3 separate regions of the Homo sapiens genome follow, and all the other regions are linked to region 3. The links are contacts of gene promoters, found by promoter capture Hi-C in human tissues and cell types (Jung and others, 2019). All regions are on one chromosome and are shown on one strand. Each heading gives the region's core, a stretch centred on a gene start or on the middle of the fragment in contact. The rest is flanking DNA. Distances are from core to core; before and after follow the strand shown.

Region 1 (4,484 bases), core at 1,706-4,205, 540 kb after region 3:
AGGTGGGACTTGGCAACTACCTGATGAGATCCAGGAGATGAGGCCAGGAGGCGGGCAGCAAAGATGACGCAGGTTTCTAGCCTTAATAGGCTAGGAGGAGAGTGATGCCATTAGCAATAAGAACTACAGGAGAAGGAGCTGAGTTTGAGGGAACTATTAATTTGGTTCAGAATATGTGCTGTTTGAGTTATGGCAGGATATTTAAGTGGACAGACTGTCGACATAGTTGGAAATTCAGATCTTAAGCTCCCACACAAGGTAGTGGCTGGACATAGTAGATTTGAGTGCTCTTGCTTCAGAGGGCTAGTTTAGGTTGGGGCAGTGATTAAAGCAACCTAGGAAATAAATTATAAAGGAAGAAGAGGTCCTTAAAACCTTGGAGACTGATTATATAAAGGGTGGATCCGTTAATACAGTAGCTATTAAAAAATTATAAGGGGTGGGAAAAAGGGACAAAGAAGAAAAAAGAGGTGAAAGACCTTTGCTGTGTCACCAAACCCTGGGAGGAGAATTTTTTAAAAGAAGAGTACTCAATCCACAGTGAACTAAGGCATGTTTGTTAAACACAATTGACCACCACACAGCGAAGACCCAAATGAGGTTCAAGAGAAGGAATTTTTATGGACCCTGTTAGCACAAGTCAAGGTCCTTCTCCAGTACCACTGGGAAGCTTTGGAGAAGAAAAGGGGGACAGTGGGCCTTGGGTGGAGAAGGGAACTGACCATGAGATCCAGGTGGGGTGAGGAGGTGTGTGAAGTCAGAGTGGGGAAGAATCAGGGTGGCTTACTGGCAGCTTCACCGGGGTCATGCGAGGAGCAGGTTCCACCAGAGTAAGGAGTGAAGTTGTAGAAACACAGGGAAGTCACCATCAGAAAAGAGCAGGAGTCAAGAAACTATGGCCCACAGGTACAAACTACCTGTTTTTATAAATAAAGCTTCATGGTAAATGAATTGTAAATAAAGTTTTGCATATTGTGTGAGGCTGTTTTTGTGCTACAGTGGCAGAGCTGTCTGGCCCTTTATAGAAAAAGTTTATCAGCCACTGGAAAAGAGTTGCAGGATTTGAGGTCTTGGTGTGATGGCCTAGGTTAGAGTCATAGTGAGATTGAAGGAGTAGCTAGACAAGCCAATTGTGTGGCAGAAAGGTAGGGATGGAGATCACTGGGTTAAGGATCCTTGTAGCCAGGACACCATGAGAGTGATTGACAAGAATGCTGAAATCCCCTAAGTGTGTCAGGATGTGGAAGAGTAGAAGGCTAGAGTTATGGAAGAAAGGGTCCCACCTCTACCTGTGCAGCCTCCAGGAGAGTCTGAGGAGGGGGCGGTGAGTGTGAGTAAATGTTGTCAGAATCCCTCCTCCCAGTCTACAAGCCCCAGGGAAAGGAAGCAAGGTGTTTACTGACACCCCCAGGCTTATAAGTACTTCCTGGCTCCATCACCCTCCAGTGAACAGCCCTGGGGAGAAGACAGTACTGGTTTGCAGGTGGGTGGGTGGGGAAAGGGGTCACAGGTGCTTGGTGTTCTGGTAAATGTGCATATGAGAACATGGGGTTGCTTGTGCCCTGTCCGTCAGGGTTCAGAAGAACGTGCAGTGGAAGCAGCTATGGGGAAGTAGCTAGGGAAGGTAGGACTGGTCTGAGGTGGTGAGGAGCAGATGCTGCCAGCTCCACACATCCAGGAGAGCCTGGGTGGTTTGGGCAAAAGTCTCTGGCATCCCTTCTGAGCCTGGGTACCACACTGAAGAGTGAGGACAGTGTGCCATTTTTATCAGGAAACCCTCCAGCTCCCTGAAGACCAAATTCTGATCCTCCTGGGATGGCAGTGAAGAGCCACAGAGATGACTCTGAGGTCCCGTGGCCTTTTCCCACCTGGAGATTGTTTTCGTTACTGCGCTGTTACAGCCTTGGAGGACTGGGGTTCAGTTTCATCCAATCACATTTCTTCTTTTGTCATAGTCATCTAAACGATAGATCTTAGAGACAGGTGGGCAAGGGGTGCACTGGTGAGCCTGACTTAAGGAGAGGTCATCTCGTCCCTTCCCTAGTCCCATCTCCCTTGGTTATTGTTATTTCATGTGATTGTTCTGGTTATTTCAGGTTATTCTGTTTTTGTTTTCAAAACAATAACATATATTTGTTGTTCTGATTTTAAAGGGGTAATTGTTTTGGTAACTAGAAAATTACCTTCTCAACTCCCTTAAATTCTGTCAAAGGGAAAAGTAAGTTAGGTTGCTGGAGAGGCTATGCTGAGGCCTCAGAACCTCTGTATTCCTGGAAGTTCTGCGTGCTTTGCCTCCTGCTCCCCTCTCTGTGTTCCTGTTGGCAGGCCCCTAGGCAGGATTTAGGAGGTAGGCAAGTCACCCTAGCCAAGTCATAAGCCCATGGCTCAATTGCCTTCTCAGCCCTTCAAGGGCTGTTCCACAGGCAGCAAAGGGAGGGGCCTCCACAGGTTCACCACTGCAGCCCTAATTCATTTTCTTTTTCCACTGTCTTATTCTGCAGGGGTATTCCCTCAGCGGATACTACACCCATCCATTTCAAGGCTATGAGCACAGACAGCTCAGGTACCAGCAGCCTGGGCCAGGATCTTCCCCCAGTAGTTTCCTGCTTAAGCAAATAGAATTTCTCAAGGGGCAGCTCCCAGAAGCACCGGTGATTGGAAAGCAGACACCGTCACTGCCACCTTCCCTCCCAGGACTCCGGCCAAGGTTTCCAGTACTACTTGCCTCCAGTACCAGAGGCAGGCAAGTGGACATCAGGGGTGTCCCCAGGGGCGTGCATCTCAGAAGTCAGGGGCTCCAGAGAGGGTTCCAGCATCCTTCACCACGTGGCAGGAGTCTGCCACAGAGAGGTGTTGATTGCCTTTCCTCACATTTCCAGGAACTGAGTATCTACCAAGATCAGGAACAAAGGATCTTAAAGTTCCTGGAAGAGCTTGGGGAAGGGAAGGCCACCACAGCACATGATCTGTCTGGGAAACTTGGGACTCCGAAGAAAGAAATCAATCGAGTTTTATACTCCCTGGCAAAGAAGGGCAAGCTACAGAAAGAGGCAGGAACACCCCCTTTGTGGAAAATCGCGGTCTCCACTCAGGCTTGGAACCAGCACAGCGGAGTGGTAAGACCAGACGGTCATAGCCAAGGAGCCCCAAACTCAGACCCGAGTTTGGAACCGGAAGACAGAAACTCCACATCTGTCTCAGAAGATCTTCTTGAGCCTTTTATTGCAGTCTCAGCTCAGGCTTGGAACCAGCACAGCGGAGTGGTAAGACCAGACAGTCATAGCCAAGGATCCCCAAACTCAGACCCAGGTTTGGAACCTGAAGACAGCAACTCCACATCTGCCTTGGAAGATCCTCTTGAGTTTTTAGACATGGCCGAGATCAAGGAGAAAATCTGCGACTATCTCTTCAATGTGTCTGACTCCTCTGCCCTGAATTTGGCTAAAAATATTGGCCTTACCAAGGCCCGAGATATAAATGCTGTGCTAATTGACATGGAAAGGCAGGGGGATGTCTATAGACAAGGGACAACCCCTCCCATATGGCATTTGACAGACAAGAAGCGAGAGAGGATGCAAATCAAGAGAAATACGAACAGTGTTCCTGAAACCGCTCCAGCTGCAATCCCTGAGACCAAAAGAAACGCAGAGTTCCTCACCTGTAATATACCCACATCAAATGCCTCAAATAACATGGTAACCACAGAAAAAGTGGAGAATGGGCAGGAACCTGTCATAAAGTTAGAAAACAGGCAAGAGGCCAGACCAGAACCAGCAAGACTGAAACCACCTGTTCATTACAATGGCCCCTCAAAAGCAGGGTATGTTGACTTTGAAAATGGCCAGTGGGCCACAGATGACATCCCAGATGACTTGAATAGTATCCGCGCAGCACCAGGTGAGTTTCGAGCCATCATGGAGATGCCCTCCTTCTACAGTCATGGCTTGCCACGGTGTTCACCCTACAAGAAACTGACAGAGTGCCAGCTGAAGAACCCCATCAGCGGGCTGTTAGAATATGCCCAGTTCGCTAGTCAAACCTGTGAGTTCAACATGATAGAGCAGAGTGGACCACCCCATGAACCTCGGTAAGAGACCACCCAGGAACTGTACCTAGGGTTGGGGTCAGGTGCTTTTGCTCCTGACGCAGTCTTGGCTGATTTGTGAGCAGTGCTGTTTGGTGGCGCCTATCTTTTCCTCCTTCCCTTCTGCCTTTTAGCTAAATTCCCCTTGATTGGCCCTTTCTCCAGATATTGAGCAGGGAATATAGACCTTGGACCAGCCAGAATCTTGGCTGAACAAGGGGGAGGTTGACTCTGTTGGCTGTAATGAAGCTTCTTTAGAAATGATTGGTTTTGGCCGTACGCGGTGGCTCATGCCTGTAATCCCAGCACTTTTTGAGGCCGAGGCAGGCATATCACGAGGTCAGGAGTTTGAGACCAGCCTGGCCAACATGGTGAAACCCTGTCTCTACTAAAAATACAA
Region 2 (4,228 bases), core at 1,013-3,512, 720 kb before region 3:
GTTTATCTTCTCTAGAAAGCCTATGAGCATCATGAGCACAATACTATGAGCATAATGTCCAGATTACATGAGAGGCAGGTATAATTTCATCTGCACTGGTCATAATATACATGTAATATTGTGTATAGCAGTGACAATAATAAAATTGCTATTTTTTGTGTAAATTTATATGTCCCTGCCAGGCATTGTGGTAGAGCTTACTTTTTTTATTTCTTTTGAGACAGCGTCTCATTTTATTGCCTAGGCTGGAGTGCAGTGGCACAAGCTTGGCCCACTGCAACCTCCACCACCTGGGCTCAAGTGATCCTCCTGCCTCAGCCTCCTGAGTAGCTGGGACTACAGGCACATGCCATCACACCTGGCTAATTTTCGTATTTTTTGCAGAGATGGAATTTCACCATGTCACTCAGGCTGGAGTGCAGTGGCATGCATGATCGCAGCTTACTGAAGCTTTGACCTCCCCAGTTCAAATGATCTTCTTGCCTCAGCCTCCTGAGGAACTAGGACTACAGGCATGTGCCATCATGCCTGGTTAATTTTTTTTTTTTTTGAGATGGAGTCTTGCTTTGCCCAGACTTGAGTGCAATGGCGCGATCTCGGCTCACTGCAACCTCTGCCTCCCTGGTTCAAGTGATTCTCCTGCCTCAGCTTCCTGAGTAGCTGGGATTACCAGCACATGCCACTACACCTGGCCAGTTTTTGTATTTTTAGTAGAGACGGGGTTTCACCATATTGGCCACGCTGGTCTCGAACTCCTGACCTCAAGTGATCTGCCAGCCTTGGCCCCCCAAAGTGCTAGGATTACAGGCATGAGCCACCATGCCCAGCTAATTTTTAAATTTTTTTTAGAGATGAGTCTTCACTATATTGCCCAGGTGGTCTTGAACTCCTGGGCTCAAGCAATTCTGCTTTAGTCTCCACCAAATTGCTGGGATTACAGGTGCAAGCCACCATGCCTAACCAAGGAAGAGTTACATTTTATTTAAAATATATATTTATTGTTATTATTTTTTTAGAGACGTGGTCTCACTCTGTGGCCCAGGCTGGAGTGCAGTGGTGCAATCACAGCTCACTGCAGCCTTGAACTCCTGGGCTCAAGCAATCTTACTACCCTAGACTCCTGAATAGCTGGGACTACAGGACCATGCCACTATGCCTGGCTAATTAAAAAAAATTTTTTTTAGAGACAAGGTGCTATGTTGCCCAGTCTGGTTTTGAATTCCTGGCCTCAAGATCCTCTTGCCTCAGTCTCTTGAGTCGCTGGAATTATAAGCACGACCCACTGTACCCGGGTACATTTTAAAATAATATAGATAAGGAGCAAAACATTATTAACAAAATAAATCAAGGTGACCATGTCTATATCCATACCGAATAATAATAGTGTTTAGTCTCAAAGTATTAAATGAAATAGCTTTTAGGGAAAGTTTTCACAAAATGGAGACAGCCTTGGTAGTAAGCTACTTGAAGGCAGGCAGGAACAATATCCTATGGATCTTTGAATCCCTCAAGAGTCTCTTGCTTCTAATAGGAGTTCAGTAAATATTTGGTTGAACAACTAATTGGATTCAGTTGCCATTAAGAATGGGCACAGCCTAAGGAAGTGGCTCTCCATTCATCAATCAGGTGCTTTCCTGCAAATTGTTTGCTACTCATTAGTGAAACTGAACACTGTCTCTATGAGAAGAGGAACACAGCAAACTACCAAGACAGGCATATTTTTTGGAATGATCATAAAGAGAGATCTGAAGGCTTAGATTAGGAGACACCTGGGCAATTCTTTTGGCTCTATCATAGATTTATTCCCTGCAGCAGTGCGGTGGAGGAGCGGGGGGCAACCCACTGCTGCTTACATATTTACAATGCATCAACTTTTATTGTTAGAAAATGGAGATAGGGTAGAAAAGAGAGAAGATGAAGAATTCTCATATTCCAGGAGGATAGAGAAGGAAAAGAAGAGAAACAGATGAACGCATCTTTGAATTATCTAGTTGTTCCCCCTGGCCTTGTTTCCTATTTTTGCTGTTCTTTCTTCATTTTAGTATTTGTTAACTCTTGCCTCTCTCCCTGAAACCAAGACAATGAGCTAGAATCATCAAAGATATTAAAACCTAGAGCTCTCTGTCTTGCTTTAGTCCAAAGCTTGGTGGGAAATGGAAGTTGAAACTAATGGCTGAAGTGAGTGTTTTAAAGTAGCTATAAATTGCAGTGACCTGTGCTTCTCGCTCCTTTTGTCCTTCATGGTCATGGATAATTGAGTGTTGGCTTGGTGTATCACCCAAGTGCTGTGGCATTTGAAATGAAGTACTCTATGAGATGTGAAAAAGTTGGAAGTGGTAGTTCTCTATGTAGGAGATCCTCTGTAATGGTTTAAAGACCTGCAAGACACATCTGGGCTATTGGCCAGCTCCTTCAGCTTCTGACCAGAACTGCTTTTATTGACACCCCCTTTCCTAAACATAGCTTTTCGCAGTCAAGTAGACAAATATAATACAATGGAATGAGAATAAATTTTGGCTTCAGCCAGACATTGGTTTAAATCCTAGCATTGGCCAGGTGCAGTGGCTCACACCTGTAATCCCAGGACTTTGGGAGGCCAAGGTAGGCAGATCACCTGAGGTCGGGAGTTCAAGACCAGCCTGACCAACATGGAGAAACCCCATCTCTACTAAAAATACAAAATTAGCTGGGTGTGGTGGCACTTGTCTGTAATCCCAGCTACTTGGGAGGCTGAGGCAGGATAATCGCTTGAACCCAGGAGGCAGAGGTTGTGGTGGGCCAAGATCACGCCATTGCACTCCAACCTGGGCAACAAGATCGAAACTCCGTCTCAAAAACAAAAACAAAAACAAACTAGTGCTACCTTTAGTCATTTGTTTGGCTTTAGCCAAGTTATTTTATTTCTGAGCTTTGGTTTCCTTGTCTGGCAAGTATATATAATAATACATACACTCGAGGGTATTTGTTAGGATTAAATAAAATGTAGTATGTAACAGGCTGATATAATTTATTTTCCCTTTCCCAATAATAGTCCCTCTAAGAGAAATCACTATATTATGTTCCACACCATCTCCTTTTTTCAAGGATTCTGGAACTGCAGTTAGAGAAAGGAATCTGTTGGAAGGGAATAAGAAGAAAAAGAACAGGAAGAAATCATGGATTGCTCATGTGATCATGAAAGGGACTTTTGTTTTGGAAACTTAGAACTCAAAGAATAAAGATGCGGAAGGTGAAGTGGAAGAAAAAATACCATCAAGATTTAGCCTTGTGGAATAAGTGAGAACAAGTAGTTAATGAGTGTGAAGATCAGTTATCTGAACACATCTGATTTGATTTCTTCTTCCTTATTCTGAGGGGATAGAGCACACTGGATTCTGCTCATTTCACTGTACCTCTTATTCAGGAATGAGAAAAGCCATTTCCTAGCTGGATTGTGTCTCCACCCTAAAAACTGGAGTCCCGATGCTCAAACCTACTGGATTGTCTGAGGGATAGAATCCCTGAAGGAATAAGAAGGTTCTTTGGCAGCAACTCTCACTGGCTTCCCCCATCTAAACTGAATCAAGGAGAAGCAGGGCAATTATATTTTATTTATTTGATCAGGAAAGCATAACACAGGAAGTTTGCTCCTTTAGCATATACTGCAGGAGTCCCCAAAGAGGAAAAAACTTCCTTCTCAAGCTTGTCTTTGCCACCTTCTTCCCTATTTTCCACTCCACTTTCTGCTCCAGAGAGTGTAAAACTAATCTTGGAGCCCACAGGGCTGGGTCGGGGACCAGCCGCTCTGAAATGACGTAATGCTTTCTGCGGTACACAAAGCGGCCTCCCCCGGGCTGGGCCTCTTTCGCCCCTCCCCCTCCGGCCTGGATCGCGCCCCCGCCAGCATCAACGCTGGTCAGTCCCCCTTTTTGAAAAGGCGGCCCAGGGAAACAGGGAACAAAGGCCCCGGAAGGAGAGCGTCGGCGCTGCCAGGAGGCCCAGAAATAGACATCACGTCATCCCCCAGCCCAGCAGCGCCAAGCGCCATTTGGTAGCATCGGAGGGACCCCACCATTACGATGCGGAATGGAGCTTGCAGGGCTCACGTTTCCTCCTAGCCCCAGCATCCAGCTGACCGGCTTAAGGAGTGGCTTCCTTTTTGCTCCCCACCCCGCACCCCTCTTTCCCCAGAGGCCGCCGCCTCCCCTGGCTGCCAGCCACACGGCCCACAGTCTCCAAGCTGCCATCT
Region 3 (4,424 bases), core at 420-2,919:
TACCGAGACTTCAACTCTAAATAAATAAGTAAATAAATTTTAAAATATAAATTTTAAAGTCAAGCCTTTCCCATATCCTGTTGTATTAGTTCATTTTCACATTACTGATAAAGACATACCCGAAACTGCAAACAAAAAGAGGTTTAATTGGACTTACAGTTCCACATTGCTGGGGAGGCCTCAGAATCATGGCGGGAGACAAAGGCACTTCTTACATGGCGGTGGCAAGAGAAAAATGAGGAAGAAGCAAAAGCAGAAACCCCTGATGAACTCATCAGATCTTGTGAGACTTATTCACTATCATGAAAATAGCACGGGAAAGTCTGGCCCCCGTGATTCAATTACCTCCCCTTAGGTCCCTCGCACGTGGGAATTCTGGGAGATACACATCAACTTGAAATTTGGGTGGGGACACAGCCAAACCATATCATCTGAATGACCATATTTCTTCCTTTTTAATGAGTTGCCCCACAGTTCTTCTAGTGTGTGATCTCTCTGTTGTGGCAAGTTAATAAACCTAACTGTCAAACTACAGATGTGGTCTTTATAAGACAGGCTTATCAATTGTCTTTCCTTTCTTATATAACTCTTTGTTTCCTCTGAAGTTGATAATTGCCTAACCTTTTCTCTTACTTTGTTCTCTCTCTCTCTTTCTCTCTATACATAATAAATTCATCCCCAAAACTGTTCTAAAGAATTATACTCTTTCTTTCAATGCCTTCACCACTTCAGGTAATTCTTCTGGTCTTTCTTTTCTTTTCTTTTTTTTTGAAACCCAGACTCCTGGAGCCCTTCTTCCTCTGGCTCCAAGTTATATTGGTTGTTGTCCTTGTAAAAATATGACTACCTCTGTTCTAACAATAATCTCAAGCCTTCATGGTTAGTTGTCAATGCAACTGCTTCACTGACTCCTGCTTTCCCCCTCCACCTGAAAGGGGTCGAGTCTCTTGACATCTCTGTATCTCCAAAGTCTATCATGGTAATCAAGAAATGTTCTGGCCGGGCGCTGTGGCTCATGCCTGTAATCCTAGCACTTTGGAAGGCTGAGGTGGGCCAGTCACTTGAGGTCAGGAGTTTGAGACCAGCCTGGCCAACATAGTGAAATCCCCGTTCTCTGCTAAAAATAAAAAAATTAGCCCGGCGTGGTGGCGCGCGCCTGTAATCCCAGCTGCTCGGGAGACAGAGGTTGCAGTGAGCTGAGATCGAGCCACTGTACTCCAGCATGGGCAACAGAGCGAGACTTTGTCTCAAAAAAAAAAAAAAAAAAAAAAAAAAAAAAAAGGAGTTCTGTCCCGCCTAGGCACTATAGAGAGACCCTGTCAAGAATGGAAAGAAAGAAATCTTCGAATGAATGAACTAGTGAATGAAGGAATGGATTTCAGCGCTGGAGAATTGAGTTTAAGGGGAATGGTATTATATTCCCATCTTGTTGCAACATTTAAGGATGTCCTCAAGCCCCACGCCAGCCTGGAGCGTAGCCCAAGGTGGGAAAGCAGCGCCGAGGCCTCTCCAGACCCGGCCTGCTCCCCGTTTGCGGAGCACAGCCCACTGTACCCCCGCCTAGATTGAGGCGCTGGCCAGGAGTACACCAGGCGCCGCCATGTGAACTACAACTCCCAGAAGGCCGCGCGGAAGCGGAACGTGAACCAGGGAGGACTTCCGGACGCCAACATCCGGGCCGCGCGGGGAAGGGGAGACGTGGGGTAGAGGTAAGTGTAGGTTGAAGGCTGAATGGGGAGGGCGAGAGATGGGGAGTGGGTCTCAAATATAGAGGGGGTAGCAAGGTGGAAGGGGCCCTTCCACCTTTTGTGGGCACTCAAGTTCGGACCTCTGGGATCGGCGATTCCCCTCTGGCCAGGGCTGGTTTTAATGCTCTCCGTGGGCGGGCTTCGGTTGAGTTTGGTCCGCTTTTCCTTTCTGCTCCTCAGGGGAGCATTGCTTCCTTCTCTCGCAGTGACCATGACGAAATTAGCGCAGTGGCTTTGGGGACTAGCGATCCTGGGCTCCACCTGGGTGGCCCTGACCACGGGAGCCTTGGGCCTGGAGCTGCCCTTGTCCTGCCAGGAAGTCCTGTGGCCACTGCCCGCCTACTTGCTGGTGTCCGCCGGCTGCTATGCCCTGGGCACTGTGGGCTATCGTGTGGCCACTTTTCATGACTGCGAGGACGCCGCACGCGAGCTGCAGAGCCAGATACAGGAGGCCCGAGCCGACTTAGCCCGCAGGGGGCTGCGCTTCTGACAGCCTAACCCCATTCCTGTGCGGACAGCCCTTCCTCCCATTTCCCATTAAAGAGCCAGTTTATTTTCTAACTTCGTTTAGTTTGAGTATGGAAAACGGGTATTGGGGATTCTATGTACTAACGGTCGAGAAGTGAATGTGAAAGAACCACCTTCTTGAGGCCATCTCAGCCTTTATCTTTGCATCTTGCTGGTGTTCCCATTTTTGCTCCCAAGGAGGCAAAGACCCCTTCTCAATATTTCTCAGGATGGAAATGACATTTCACTTTCCTGGTCCTTTCAACCCTGTAGGAAGTACTTCTTTTTTTTTTTTTTTGAGACGGAGCCTTGCTCTGTCGTCCAGGCTGGAGTGCAGTGGCGTGATCTCGGCTCACTGCAAGCTCCGCCTCCCGGGTTCACGCCATTCTCCTGCCTCAGCCTCCTGAGTAGCTGGGACTACAGGCGCCTGCCACCACGCCTGGCTAATTTTTTGTATTTTTAGTAGAGTCGGGGTTTCACCGTGTTGGCCAGGATGGTCTGATCTCCTGACCTCGTAATCCGCCCGCCTCGGCCTCCCAAAGTGCTGGGATTACAGGTGTGAGTCACCGCGCCCGGCGTACTACTTCTTTTTTTTTTTTTTTTTGAGACAGGGTCTCACTCTGTTGCCCAGGCTGGAGTGCAGTGGTGCAATCATGGCTCACTGCAGCCTCACCCTCCCAGGCTCAAACAGTTCTCCCACCTCAGCCTCCAGAGTAGCTGGGACTACAGGCATATGCCACCACGCCACCAGGCTAATGTTTAATTTTTTGTAGTGACAGGGTCTCGCTGTGTTGCTCAGGCTGTTCTCAAACTCCTGGGCTCAAGTGATCCTCCTGCCTGGGCCTCCCAAAGTGCTGTGATTACAGACATAAGCCACCTTACCCGGCCAGAAGTACTTTCTTGAAGCCTAAGTTCCATTCTTCATAACATCCAAGTTTTGTTATTTTTAAGGCCTTCCTGGGTCTTTCCAACCTTTTGGTTCTTTGAGATACCTTTTCTGAGCCTACCCTACCAACCTGAGAATAACTGTGGATCTATCCTTCACCAAACCAGGCAGGTTTAGAATTATGAGTAGAGAATGAACCATCGTGGGCAGGGGTGGGGAACACTTTATTTTAAGGCATATTCATATCAGCATATAAGGCATATTCATATCACAATGGCACGATCTCAGCTCACTGCAACCTCCACCTCCTGGGTTCAAGCAATTCTCCTGCCTCAGCCTCCCAAGTATCTGGGATTACAGGCATGTGCCATCATGCCTGGCTAATTTTGTATTTTTAGTAGAGATGGGGTTTCACCATGTTAGTCAGGTTGGTCTTGAACTCCTGACCTCAGGCGATCCGCCCACCTTGGCCTCCCAAAGTGCTGGGATTACAGGCGTGAGCCACCGCGCCCGGCCTTTTAAGGCATATTCTAAAGATTGCACCCCAACCTCCAAAATTAAAAAAAAAAATCTCTAAAAAATAAAAAGTGATTTCATCTCCTAGGCCCCAATCAATCATCTAAGTAAAGCTTTTTCTTTGGTCCTTTTATCCTCAAAGTCATCTCTTGTTCCCACAACCCACTGCACCTGGGAAGCTGGACAGCAGGCCCAGCTGAAACAAGGAGGTCTCTTTGGTTCAGGTTGGCACTAAGGTGCCCAGTGGTCAGATGAGCAGCCTCAGGTTTGCAGGAGCCAGTAGTTCCTGTCTTGCTCCTGGGGGTACTTCCAGAAAAGCCAGAAGCGGATAAAGCTGGTGACGATTCCTGGAAAGTTGGACACCTGAAATCACAAGAACTGCTATGAGGAGAGGAGCCAGTTTTCCATCTTGCACCCCTGTCACCCCATCCCAGTTGTGCTTACCATGATATAGGGATCTCTGAGTCGAAACCCATAGAGGCACCAGGAGGCAGAGGTGAGAAGGGTAGCAATGGTGAGTGGGTAGGAGAGACATTGGGTTGATTTAGTTTGAATCACCTTAGCCTGTGGGAAAGAATGGAAGACTCTCTTGGCCCAAGCACATCGTAAAGCTTCACTTGCCTAAGAATTTCCTCAAGAAAAAGGTCAGACACCCTCCCTGATCTGTCACCCAACCTTTCCTGCCTCCCACTCGCCCACTTCTACTGCCTTGTCTTCTTCCAGGGTTTGGATCTCCCCTTCCTCGGGACTGTAAGCCATAGTATTTG

What was found. Contacts are between HindIII fragments. The study calls those that stand out against the background at their distance.
Region 1: a contact is called between a fragment that was not itself captured here and the fragment with the promoter of DPM3 in region 3, in 1 of the 25 tissues and cell types used here (dorsolateral prefrontal cortex).
Region 2: a contact is called between a fragment that was not itself captured here and the fragment with the promoter of DPM3 in region 3, in 1 of the 25 tissues and cell types used here (hippocampus).

The regions. Positions count from the first base shown.
Region 1 is chr1:154,600,644-154,605,127 of GRCh38, reverse strand. ADAR (adenosine deaminase RNA specific) reads left to right here. Exons shown (of 15, transcript NM_001111.5): 2 at 2,502-4,087. Among named protein-coding and RNA genes, the nearest start is that of ADAR, 5.3 kb to the left of the region's middle. The HindIII fragment of the contact is 4,304 bases long and covers 804-4,484 here.
Region 2 is chr1:155,860,240-155,864,467 of GRCh38, reverse strand. All of the region lies in intron 1 of SYT11 (synaptotagmin 11), which reads right to left. Among named protein-coding and RNA genes, the nearest start is that of SYT11, 2.8 kb to the right of the region's middle. The HindIII fragment of the contact is 3,807 bases long and covers 359-4,165 here.
Region 3 is chr1:155,137,776-155,142,199 of GRCh38, reverse strand. DPM3 (dolichyl-phosphate mannosyltransferase subunit 3, regulatory) reads left to right here and starts at 1,669. Exons shown (of 2, transcript NM_153741.2): 1 at 1,669-1,709; 2 at 1,955-2,309. The coding sequence starts at 1,960. The coding sequence ends at 2,238. It overlaps SLC50A1 (solute carrier family 50 member 1), which reads right to left. Exons shown (of 6, transcript NM_018845.4): 5 at 4,102-4,221; 6 at 3,347-4,020. The coding sequence ends at 3,919. RefSeq lists enhancers at 1,370-1,429, 1,600-1,729. The HindIII fragment of the contact is 27,453 bases long and covers 1-4,019 here.